Linked DNA regions of Homo sapiens: all the other regions are linked to region 1. The links are contacts of gene promoters, found by promoter capture Hi-C in blood cells and fetal thymus (Javierre and others, 2016). All regions are on one chromosome and are shown on one strand. The core of a region is centred on a gene start or on the middle of the fragment in contact, and the rest is flanking DNA. Distances in the headings are between cores, read along the strand shown. Region 1 holds the start of ZBTB25 (zinc finger and BTB domain containing 25). Region 2 overlaps MAX (MYC associated factor X). Region 3 overlaps SYNE2 (spectrin repeat containing nuclear envelope protein 2). Region 4 overlaps SYNE2 (spectrin repeat containing nuclear envelope protein 2).

Region 1 (3,002 bases), core at 273-2,772:
GGGACACTTCCCCTCCCACCCGCCGCCGAGCCGCAGCTGTAAGTTGAGAGAAGCGGGCTCTAGGCACGTCAATCAACCGGGTTCTCCCGCCTCCCGTCTACACCTCCCCTCCCCCCTCGAAAAAAATAAAGGCAGAGAAAGAAAGAAAAGAAGGTAACTAATTTGGGAACTAGTCTCCGTAGGGGCTTCGCCTCCGACTCAGGGAGGCCGCACGCCCGGGACCTGACGCGCCGGCAACAAGCAGGCGGCCTGGCAGCCGCCCGTCACCGGGTCCTCGCAGCGCGTCCGCCGCGCTCCGGCTCCCCGCACGGATCGGCGCCCCTCCGGCCCCGCACTCCGCCAGGCCCGCGGCCCGTCGCCCTCCGGCCTGGGCCAAAGTTGCGCAAATAGCCCCACAACTGGCAAATACTTACCGGCCGCAACAGGAACCAGAGCTGCGGAGATTTTAGGGAGTTTAAGGCAAATCAGCCGCGGGAAAGGCGGGCGAAGGCGAAGGGGCCGCGAGCTGCAGTGGCGGCGGCGCGCGGCGCTCGGCGCTCGGGCTGGGCTGCGCGGAGAGGCTCTGGCTCTGCCAGGGACTGTGCTGCAACAAAGGACTTCCGCTGCCGCACAGCCGCGCCTGCCGCACCGCACTGAGCCGGCCCCGCTTACGCGGCGACTCCGGGTCTGCCCACCAGTTCGCTGCGGCGTCCGCCAGCCTTCCCCTCCCTCTCGCCCGCCCACCCACTCTGCCGCTGGCTGCTAGGGGCACCCGCGGTCGCCTGTTTGTTGCAACAAGTTTCTGCGTCGAGCTCCGAGGAGGCTGGCGCAACCCGCACCGCGGGGGCCGTCGCGGCGGCGGCGGCTTGACCACCCCTCTTGCCCCTCTCAAGGGTAGGCTTGGGACCTCCTCCTCCTCCTGTTTGCACAGCTGGATGGAACTGGGCTCCTCCCGACTCCCCAGGGCAGGATGCGAGGCTGCTTTCCCACTCCGTCCAGATGTCAGACCCCTGCCCGTTGGGCCCAGCAGCTGGGCCGTCACTCGCGGTCCGCCTCGAGTGCTCCGGCAACCTCGCCCTGCCCCGTCGGTTCAGGGTCGCCCAGTCCCCGCGCCCCCCCGACCCCACCTTCCGTGGGCCTGCTGCCTCTGGCCCTGAGTCACTTCCCCCGCCATGCCCCACCTCGCCCAGTCCGCCTCTCCACCCAGGCTCCCGCGGCTCGGCCTCCCTGGCCCCGCGCCCTCATCCCTTCCCCAGCGAACACGCGGGCGCATCCTTCCCCACCCCCACCTTCACCCCAGAACTGAGGGGGTGCCTGTGCTTTTGCACACCCTGGGGAAAGTCCCCGGGTCACGCGGTTGTTTGTGGGGAGCCTGTGACGCTCAGGCTTGTCCCTATGCTTCCGCCTACAGAGTCACAACTGCGAACTGTGGCGGCGGCACTCAGAGCGCGGGCCGACCCCCGCCCGGCCACTGAGGCGGGCGGGCGGGAGGGCGCGCACGTACGCACGCACGCACGCACGCACACCCCGGCCCTGGCGCCCCTCTTTCCCCTGCTACCAGACACGCGGTCACGTGGGGCCATCGCGGGCTGCCGGCGCGGGAAGCCGCGCGAGAGGCGGCCGAGGGGTGCGTGAGCCGGCGCCACTGCTTGCAGTGCGCGGCTTGGGAGCCCGCCCCTCCTGCACGGAGGAGTCGGCCTGCCGCCGCGGCGGCATCTGGGTAAGCGACGCGGTCCTGCCCCTGTGGGCTGCCCCGGGCTCAGTCCCTCCTGCCGCGAGCCACCCAGGGCGGCGGCCTGCAGCTGCACCAGTCGCGGGACAGATGCAAGTAGCTGGGGAGAGGGGTGTTTTTGGTCCGATTGAGATGTCAGGCAGGGCACAGGAGGAAAATACATCCGCGAGTGAGCGCTGGGCCGACAATACCCAGAACCACCCTTTGCTGCTCGTAGGAGCGGCTGCCGGGGCCTGATTCAGGGTGGCACACGGGGTGCCGCGAAGGTGCAGAGCCGTCCCGGCCGCGGGTCCGGGTGCGACCCCCAGCAGGAAACCCCAGTAGGCCTGCGGCCTCCCTCGGGTAGCGCCGACCCCTCTTACGAGCGGGCGACTTTCCAGATGCTGGGAGGACGCTGCGGCTACTGTTTCCACTCCCAGCTTGTGATTACCTCGTTTCTAGGGCAAGAAGACATCCCCCCCTTTTCTATCTTCAAATTATGTTTATCTTGTTCTAAGCATATCCGGTTTTTCTTTTTGAAGCTTGACCCATCTTATCACCGTCTTCTCTGGCACTCAGTATTTGGAGTAATCAGTTGTTACCAGTTGCGGAGGCAGCGCATAGCACAACGTAGTACCTGGAACCTGACGGCACCTAGCATGTTTCAACAGTTAGCGCCCGCATCACCCCAAGGGATTAAATTTGGCATTCTTTCTCTTGAGACTCAAGTCCTGGCAGAGCTGTTGATCCTCTCACAAGATTCTGTCATGTATGTAAAGTACACTTTGGAATCTTAAATTTTAGAGCCGAGAGGTGCCTTATAGAAAATCTGTTTCATCCCTCTCGTTTTACAGAGAAGACACCAGGCCTGAAGAGCGTGATGTAGCTGGAGCTAGCTACACCTCTTGATAGCTAAGACTCCAAGGCTCCAGACACCTTGGTGATTGCACTCTCCACCATGCCAGGACCGCAGTGCCAGTTTACCCCACTCACCTGTAGAGAATGTATCCGGCGGAGGTCATTATATATACTTGGCTTGATTCAGGTTATGGAGAAGTCAGGCATGGCCACTGTGTGGGTTTGATGGTATTTCTAGGTGAGGTAGGCCGCCTATGGTGTATTTTTGGAACTAAAAGCCTACACCCCCCAGCCACCCCTGAAAGTTTCATTGCTGTTCTCTATTATTTGCAGCATTGGTTGCTTCCTTATGTTAAGGCATCAAAGTCTTCTTTAACAATCTGGATATATTTTAGTTAAGGGTAAATCGTGAATCCGTTATCGGACATCAACTCCTTAATAGGGAACAGAACAC
Region 2 (3,204 bases), core at 321-2,820, 590 kb before region 1:
AGTATACAGGAAATGTATGGGTTAGTGTGTTGGTCAGGAAATGCAATTTTTTTTCCAGTGACCATCCTTGATGGCACCTGACTGAGTTGCAGTTGCAGTATACTTGTGAGGGGTTTGAAAACAGATTTGTGCAATTCCACTTCTGGACCTTTCTGGCATGAAATATTTTTAACTTCTCAGAGCTCTTTGCTTCTTTAGGAATATTCAGAAGAGAACGAGCTTGGTAGCCTCCGAGATTGGAATTCACTCAGGAAACTACTGTCTGTTTTACCTGCAGTCAGTTGCATGGCAAAAGTGCTGCACAATGCATGTACTTTTTCTCTGCTTAGAGTGTTGACAGTGATGCTTACAGTGATAACAAATGCCAGAGTTAGTTCCTAAATGTGCCTGTGTTAGGGTAAAAGTTGTTCTTATGTCTAAAAGAATTTTTCCAAGATGCCAGTAACGGTGAAATAGTTGGTCAAAGAATTCAGCTTGGTTTTTAATTAAAATTTCCTGACCAAGGCATCCTTCTCTGAAATGGCTATAGTATGAGGCCCTGTTTGGATTATAGCATTTGCCAGTTATTTTAGGCACCAAAAGAAAAAAGTTTGAAAACAAATACATACATTAGATAATGTTGGAAATGTATACCAGGCAATCAGCTACAAGCAGGACAGGTATTGGAAAATTGAAATCCATGTCTTTCTCTTAGGGAGCTTGGTGAGTTTATCCCATCCTACCTGCCTATTATTTTATGTTATAATTTTTGGGTTGATTAAAATGAATATTTTAAGTTGCTTAGAAATTGAGCTTTATCCTATCTTGTTCTTATCTATCAGAAGTAAGAAATAGATCTTTTCGGATGAGATTTTTGGGTCTGTGTATTCTCGTGTCCTTAGTCTCTAATAAGAATAGCTTGATAAGAATCATAAGCAACACAAGCTTCCCTCTAAAATACAACCTTCACATTTTGTAAAGGTAGTAAATATTGAGTGGGCAACTAATTCCCTATATGCTGAGAATTTTCTGTATTAGAATTGAGATGGTTCCCCTTATAGGTGGGGTTAGCTGTCAGGTAGCCTGTAAGACATGGCATTGTTCTGGAGAACCTTGTGCATCCTGGAATAATGAAGCATTTATTTCCCCGTGCTATTTGCCTAGAACTTGGAGGAAATAAGATTACTGACTGATGTGATGCCTTGAACAAAGATGCAGTCTCTCTGCAGTAAGTTGGAAGGAAATAATTTTAAGAGATTTCCCTCAATTTTGAACAGACCTCCTTAGCCTAGATGACTTCTTGCCAACATAGCAACTTCTTGGCTAACAAAATAATGTTTGTCTTCAACATCTAACAACACTTAAGATACACGTGCTTGGTAGTGTCAAAGATGGACAAATTGTAGGTGAAGATTTTTATTCTGTCTACCAGTGTGGAAAGTTGGGTAGAAATATAACTGAGAGGCTGAATAAAAACTTTGGCAGAGATGTCAAAGCTGGAAGTGATTTGGTGCGGGAGTTTCTGTTGAGCATCTGTGGACCACTGCATAGCCCCTTAGTATTTCTGTTAGGGATGCCCTGGAGGAAGGGTTTTCTGGCAGACATCCAGACGTACAAATCCAGCGTACTAGAAGAGTGGGCAGCATCCAGCCACTGTAACCATAGGATGTGTAGGGGAGATGTTTGGGAGCCTGCTGTACAGTCCAAGAATACCTCTGTGGTCTCCTAGAATAGGGCCTAATTAATTCCACAAGGGGGTTTTCCGTACCATTTGTTTTCATTACTGAACATCATTCTCAGTACAGGCTCATCTGAGTAGAGTTTTATTTGTTCAAGACAATTGTTTGGGCTTGTTTTTTAAAACCAGTTTTGCATTTGGGGGAGGATATTAGATGCCTTACACTGGGAGTCTTCACCCAGTTTTTCTTCTTCAACTCTGAAATCTTGGCCCTCTCAAAAAGGGTTGCCAGCAAGCAAAGACAGTTAACAAGGCAGTGATAAAGCCTGCAAACTAGTCCTCCAATGGGGGTGGGGATGAGGCGCGGGCAGTGTTATTGGTCTGGGTGGATCTGTGGTTTGGAAATGTTTCCCACAGAGAATTCTCAGCCTTGTGTAAAGGTTTTTCTGTTTTTCATGTGCTCTTTCAAAACATTAGTGATAACATTTAATTCACAGTTGCCTGGAATTAGGCTTGTTAGTTCTGCATGTTTTTAACTTGTTCTTTCAAATCAAGCTTGGGGAAGAGAAAAATACATCCTTGCCATTGTCTCTGAGAGATTTAAAATTGACTCCACTAGTAGCTCAGGGATGGACATGGCAGCAGGGATTGGTGTAAGATTCCACTCTTCTGCTAGTTAAATTGGGCCTGGAACCACTACAGAAATTCCATCCACTACTTTGAGAACAACAGTCCCCAGCCCAGGCTTTCTACCAGGCAGTGGACTGCTGCCTTTCCTTGTTGAGCCAACTTCTCAAACTTGGCTGGCTCCCCAGATGAGAAGCCAAGATTTCTGCTCATGATCTACAGCCAAGTTCACTTACAATCCTCCAACCGAGAGACTTGTCCATTTGAGTCCTTTCAGAGCTCAGTGAATGGGAGGGGGTAGTGCATTGTGGGGATGATTTTGGTGTTAGATTATACTTAGCTCCACCCCTTTAGTGCAGGTCCACGTGAAACCAAGTGCAACTTCATTCTAGCTGTTTGAGATTTGCAGGGCTCTCCCAGAAAGAAAACAGACAATTAGAATTTTATTTGTATCAACAAGAGGGATTGTGGGTAATTCTGGTGCACAGCTCTTAGCTGGGAGGAGGGCCAAGAATCAGGGTGATTTAGTAGACAGGAGTATCTTGGGCTGCTCTGGAGACCAAAGATGGGCAATTAATTTGCATGTAAATAAACCACCTTAGGTAGTATATAGCAAACAGGAGCCGCAGACACATGCCAAATATTGTCTCTTGGCCTTTAAGCTCCTTAGGTATAGTCGCAGCCCAACTTATCTTTATGTAGATGATCAGAGGGAACAACAGTAAGTTCAAAAGGACTAGATACTTAAATAGGTTCAATTCTGTCGCACTATTTCATGCTACTGTTAGAAGGCATCTATAATTTTGCGCTAAAGTTGTATGATACAGAGTACCTACCTCTACCCTCAGGTTATGTGGTGTTCCAAACTTGACTGTCCTCTCAGCTTCATATTTCATGTCACTATAGTTCAGTAAACATTC
Region 3 (2,743 bases), core at 26-2,525, 650 kb after region 1:
AAGAATAAATTGACAAATTGTACTTCATCAAAATTAAGAACAGTATCTTCAAAAGATATTGTTAAGAGAATGTAATAAATTTGCTATGGTTTAAATGTCCCCTCCAAAACTCTGGTGAAATTTAATCGCCATCGTAACATTATTAAGAGGCAATACTGTTACAATATTACAGTATTAAGAGATGGAACTTTTATCAGGTGATAGGTTATAAGGGCTCTGCTGTCATTAATGGATTAATGCCATCATCGCAGGAGTGGGTTCCTTATAAAGGAATAAATCAGGCTGAGAGTGGTGGCACGCACCTGGAGTCCCAGCTACTCAGGAGGCTAAGGCAGGAGAATCGCTTGAACCTGGGAGGCAGAGGTTGCAGTGAGCTGAGATCAAGCCACTGCACTCCAGCCTGGGCAACACAGCGAGATACTGTCTCAAAAAAAAAAATAGGCTGGGTGCAGTGGCTCATGCCTGTAATCCCAGCACTTTGGGAGGCCAAGGTGGGCAGATCACTTGAGGCCAGGAGTTCAAGACCATCCTGGCCAACACAGTGAAACCCTGTCTCTACTAAAAATCAAAAAAAAAAAAAAAAAAAAAAAAAAAAAAAAGGCCGGTGTGGAGACGCACACCTGTAATCCCAGGTACCACAATCACTAGAACCCAGGAGGCAGAGGTTGCAGTGAGCTGAGACTGTGTCACTGCACTCCAGCCTGGGTGACAGAGTGAGACTGTGTCTTAAATAAATAAATAAATAATAAAATAAAAATAATAAAACAGCTCCATTTTGCTTCTTTCTCACCCTCTCTTTGCCCTTCTGTCATGTAATGATACAGCAAAAATGCTCTCACCAGATGTCGCCCCATCAATCTTAGACTTCCCAGATTCTAGAACCATGAGCCAATAAATTTCTGTTCATTATAAATTACCCAATCTATGGTATTCTGTAATGGCAGCACAAAATGGACTAAGATAAGACTGAATGGAAATATTTGCAAATCTTACACGTGACAAATGACTTGCATCCAGAATACACAAAGAACTCTCAAAACTCAATAAGAAGGAAAACAATGCAAGAAAACGGGCAAAAAATTTGAGTAGACACTTCAACAAAGAAGATAAATGGATGGTAAATAAGCATATGAAATGATGCTCAACATCATTAGTCATCAGGGAAATGGAAATTAAAACCACAATGAGGTGTCACTACACACCCAACAGAATGGCTATAAAAGCCTAACCACCCCAACTGTTGGCAAGGATCTGGGGCAACTGGAACCCTCATAGACTATTTTGGTTATATTATATAACCACTTTGGAAAAGTATAGTAGTTCTTTGAAAAATTAAACATATGCCTACCATAGGATCTAGTCATTCTACTCCTAGACATCTACCCAGGGGAAATGAAAGATATGCATACAAAGACTGTGTATAATGTTCATGGCAGCTTTATTTTTAATAGCCCAAAACCAGAAACAACCTAAATGTCTATCAATGGGTGAAAAGATACATGAACTGGCGTCTATCAGTACAATGGAGTATTACTTAACAATAAAAAGAAATCAGCTATTGATACAATGTGGATGAGTCTCAAAATAATTATGCTAAGCAAAAGCCAGGCAAAGAAGAGAACTTACTACATGATTCCATTTACATAACATTCTAAAAAACGCAAACTAATCCACAGAGACAGAAAGCTATCATTGGCTGGATGAGGAAGAGGGATTCAGGGTATAGCAAGGAGCTACAGGGAGACAGTTCCACAGGTCTATACATAAGTCAAAAACTTCTCAAATGTAAACACGAGGCCAAGGGCAGACTCATGCCTGTAATCCAGCACTTTGGGAGGCTGAGGTGGGAGGATCACTTGAGGCCAGGAGTTGGAGACCAGCCTAGGCAACATGGTGAGACCTCTTCTCTACAAAAAAATTCACAGTTGGCCAGGCATGGTAGTGTGCACCTGTAGTCAGTTACTTGGGAGGCCGGGGTGGGAGAATCACTTGGGCCCAGGAGGTAGAGGCTACAGTGAGCCATGATCGCACCACTGTACTCCAGCCTGGGTGATAGAACGAGACCTTGTCTCAAAAAAATAAAATAAGTGAATTTACACTACTCCAGACATAATCTTTTATTTGATGAAAGTAGGAAAGGGGGCATTATGACACAGATCCTTTGTACATGTGAAAGCAAGCATTTTGTCTTTAAAAAGAAAAAAAGGAGGGGAACATACAGTGAAGACTCAGAGAATAGGCTATTGTATTTAATATTATTTCTTAATTAAGATGTTGCCAATCTGAAATATTTCACAATAATAAAAAAGGAAAAATGATTGTATGTTTCCAATTTGGCCTGTCCCACTCCCAGGCAGAACTAGGGGCTTCCCTCCTCCCACAGCCCCCAGGAGCACATGTGTATACTGCAATAGCTTGTCTTCCCACTAGACTAACAGCTTCACCAGGACAGGGACTGTCTTTTGATTTTGACATAGTGGTCAGATACAGGTTCGTTAGAGTCTGCGAGCCTGGCTTTGTATTCTAGGCGCTGCCACTCACCTACTGCATAATCTCAGAAAGTTATTCAATCTCCCTGATGCCCAGTTTCTTAAACCATAAAAAGGGCTAATAGGCTACATATGAGGATTCCATGTTAATTTCTCCAGAAAGGCCCTGCATGATCTGACACCTGATTTCCACCCTGTCATTTAGTCCTACCCTCCCTTAACTTGACAGTGCTCAGCCACAATGACCTCTCAGT
Region 4 (2,815 bases), core at 2-2,501, 630 kb after region 1:
AAGCAATCCTCCCATCTCAGCCTTCCAAAGTGCTAGGATTACAAGTGTGAGCCACCACGTCCAGCCGATTAAATAAGTTTTAAACAACTAGCTCAATCCATAGTCACCAAACTCATACCTGTACCTTCATAAAACAGGTCCATCATAGTTTAAACTGGAATCGCTGGGGTGATCCTGGTCCACAGACCTCCCTAGAGTACAGCCAAGTCAATCAGAGGGGTCTTTAAGATGCACCCCTTGCAACATGCACTTTGGCCAGTCTCCCTTCTGCCCTGGGGTTTCTCGCATCAAGTCACCGGTCTGGGAACCTTGAAGAACTGCAGAGGGCAAGAGCAGGCTCTTCCACCTGGGCAGTGACGCCTCCCTTCGGCCCATACACTGTTGTCCCTCAAATGTACCTCTTAAGATTCGTGCCAAAAGACAGAAAAAGCAATTTACTATAAATATCGGCATTTCAAACATTTTATTTGTTATTGTTTAATATGTGAAGGTATTTCCCCCCATGACTGGCTGAGGTTGACAAGTGTTACTCACTTCATTTTTTTTTTCTATTCTGTTAGTCTCCAACAACATATTTCTACATCACCAATCCCCTTGCTCAGTGTCCCATAAAGGTCTCTGTTTCCACAAACGCAGGCAACAGCATGGGCGTGCTAGTCCAGGAATACCACTGCACCTCCTCCACCCCAAGCTTAACTTCCCAGGAGAAGGAGGAAGTGATGGTGTTGGAAGAGAGCCCTAAAATGTTGTCATTGTTATTGTGAATCTTTAAATAGAACTTAGTATCTGTAAAGGGTTTTGGGAATCACCTTTACTCACAACTGTTCATAAAGATGCTATGAGAAGGAAGGGCCATTCTGTTAGCTCTGGTCTTTGATTTTTATCTATATCACATGCTGCATTATTACATGAAACTGGGCCTCATAAAGTAAAAATTATCCTGCTAAAATAAAATCAGGATTCCTTAAAAATCAAAGACTTGAAAGTTTGGCAAAGTGATGCACACCTGTAGTCCCAGATACTTGGGAGGCTGAGGCAGGAGGATCACTTGAGCCCAATGGTTTAAAGCTTAGTGCACCATGATCACACCTGTGAGTAGCCACTGCACTCCAGCCTGGACAACATAGCAACACCCCATTTAAAAAAAAAAAATCAGAGGTTTGAATTTTTTTATCCATGTGATCATGAAGAAGATAAAATTAATTTAGATGACACCATCTCTGAGAACTCTGCTTGTCTCCTAGTGATAACACCACACCCTTTGTACCAACAACAAAATGTCTTTAAATACTTTTCCCCTTTGACATTTTTTATTTTCTATGTCATTAAATCAGGTTATTTGGCAAGAAATGCAAGGAAAAAGAGAATTTCAGAATAATTATAGTAATATTAATTTTGACTAAGCAAACATAAAAAGTTACTTAATGAAGCTTGTTTTCCAAACTTTTAAACATTGCTAAATCTTCTTGCAAGATTTTTGTTTTCCCTTTGAGGTTACCCACTTGTAAAGTCCATTAGTTTTTGTTTCTTAAAAAAAAGCAGTTATGGCAAATAGGCTCAAAATATTTTCTGCCTCTAAAAATAAACATCTTTCTTTTGAACAACATTCTTAACTCTAAAGTTCTGGCTATTCCCAAGAGAGACAAGGCTAGTTAGTGGCAATTTTAAAGATAAGAGAGCTCAGGCAGGTTACATAGATATCCTTCCTGGAACCCCTTGGCCTGTCATCTTCCTGCGACATCTAGCAAATTATGGTACTTTGTTAGCTCCCAACAACAAAAGAGGCCTGCAGAGCCAGGAGGTGAGAAGCAGAGACAGTGGAGCAGAGGGCAGGCAGGGAGAGCCACAGCGTTCAGTAGGATTTAGTCTACAAATAACAAGGAAATCAGATGCAATGCTCCAGGAAAAGGCAACCTCCAGTACCAAAAGTATTTTTAAATGTTTACGTCTTTTTGTGCAACTATAAGAAGGTTTTAAAGAACTACAATGAACAACACGTTAAACACTCTGACAGACGGACATCTCATAGATACGTAATGCAAGCAATCTGTAAGGAAGAGAGATACAGGAAGGGAGAGAAGGAAGCACACAGCCAGGACAGCAGGATAAAGAGGAAGATGACATTTTCCAAGCTAACAAATGGTTTTTAACTGTCCTAATCCAGGTGCTTAAGATCCTTGAAAACAATAACCTTCCAGAAAGCAAATACAAGCAGCCAACAAGAGAACAAGTAGCCTCCTATGTACCTCTGTCAAGTCACCGTTCACTGGAGGAAAAAGGGAGGGAAAACCAAGCCATGAACAACCCAAATAGTGTTAATAAATCAAATTATGGAAGGAACTTCTGAGCAACAGCCGCCGTCCTCCCATTCACTTTCTACTTCCTTTGCATGCTGAGACCCATCCACAGTTCAGTGAGGAAGCAATGGTGCCAACCATTGTCCTGCTTTATGTAGTTAATGGAGAAAAAAATGAGAATCTTATGATTTCTTACAAAGGTAAGTACTTGGCCGGGTGCAGTGGCTCACGCCTGTAATCCCAGCACTTTGGGAGGCCGAGGCAGGTGGATCACGAGGTCAGGAGATCAAGACCATTCTGGTTAACACAGTGAAACCCCATCTCTATAATACAAAAATTGGCTAGGCGTGGTGTTGGGCGCCTGTACTCCCAGCTACTTGGGAGGCTGAGGCAAAAGAATCGCTTGAACCCGGGAGGCGGAGGTTACAGTGAGCCGAGATCGTGCCATTATACTCCAGCCTGGGCAACAGAGCTAGACTCCATCTAAAAAAAAACAAAAAACAAAAAAGGTAAGTACT

Evidence for each region. The method cuts DNA at HindIII sites, captures the fragments that hold promoters and counts their contacts. A CHiCAGO score of 5 or more calls a contact.
Region 2: a fragment that was not itself captured here is called in contact with the fragment with the promoter of ZBTB25 in region 1 in 3 of 17 cell types (monocytes, total CD8 T cells and neutrophils); the score reaches 7.2 in monocytes.
Region 3: a fragment that was not itself captured here is called in contact with the fragment with the promoter of ZBTB25 in region 1 in 1 of 17 cell types (fetal thymus); the score reaches 6.8 in fetal thymus.
Region 4: a fragment that was not itself captured here is called in contact with the fragment with the promoter of ZBTB25 in region 1 in 1 of 17 cell types (naive CD4 T cells); the score reaches 5.4 in naive CD4 T cells.

What each region holds. Positions count from the first base shown.
Region 1 is chr14:64,502,358-64,505,359 of GRCh38, reverse strand. ZBTB25 (zinc finger and BTB domain containing 25) reads left to right here and starts at 1,522. Exons shown (of 3, transcript NM_006977.5): 1 at 1,522-1,699. It overlaps ZBTB1 (zinc finger and BTB domain containing 1), which reads right to left and starts at 590. Exons shown (of 2, transcript NM_001123329.2): 1 at 414-590. RefSeq lists silencers at 281-390, 501-760, 1,361-1,790 and enhancers at 480-1,150, 1,251-1,340, 2,111-2,210, 2,271-2,390. The HindIII fragment of the contact is 6,379 bases long and covers 1-2,234 here.
Region 2 is chr14:65,095,347-65,098,550 of GRCh38, reverse strand. The region is part of intron 2 of MAX (MYC associated factor X); the gene reads left to right. Among named protein-coding and RNA genes, the nearest start is that of MAX, 5.6 kb to the left of the region's middle. The HindIII fragment of the contact is 1,288 bases long and covers 927-2,214 here.
Region 3 is chr14:63,856,119-63,858,861 of GRCh38, reverse strand. All of the region lies in intron 1 of SYNE2 (spectrin repeat containing nuclear envelope protein 2), which reads right to left. Among named protein-coding and RNA genes, the nearest start is that of SYNE2, 4.5 kb to the right of the region's middle. The HindIII fragment of the contact is 5,881 bases long and covers 1-2,743 here.
Region 4 is chr14:63,873,382-63,876,196 of GRCh38, reverse strand. All of the region lies in intron 1 of SYNE2 (spectrin repeat containing nuclear envelope protein 2), which reads right to left. Among named protein-coding and RNA genes, the nearest start is that of SYNE2, 22 kb to the right of the region's middle. The HindIII fragment of the contact is 362 bases long and covers 1,071-1,432 here.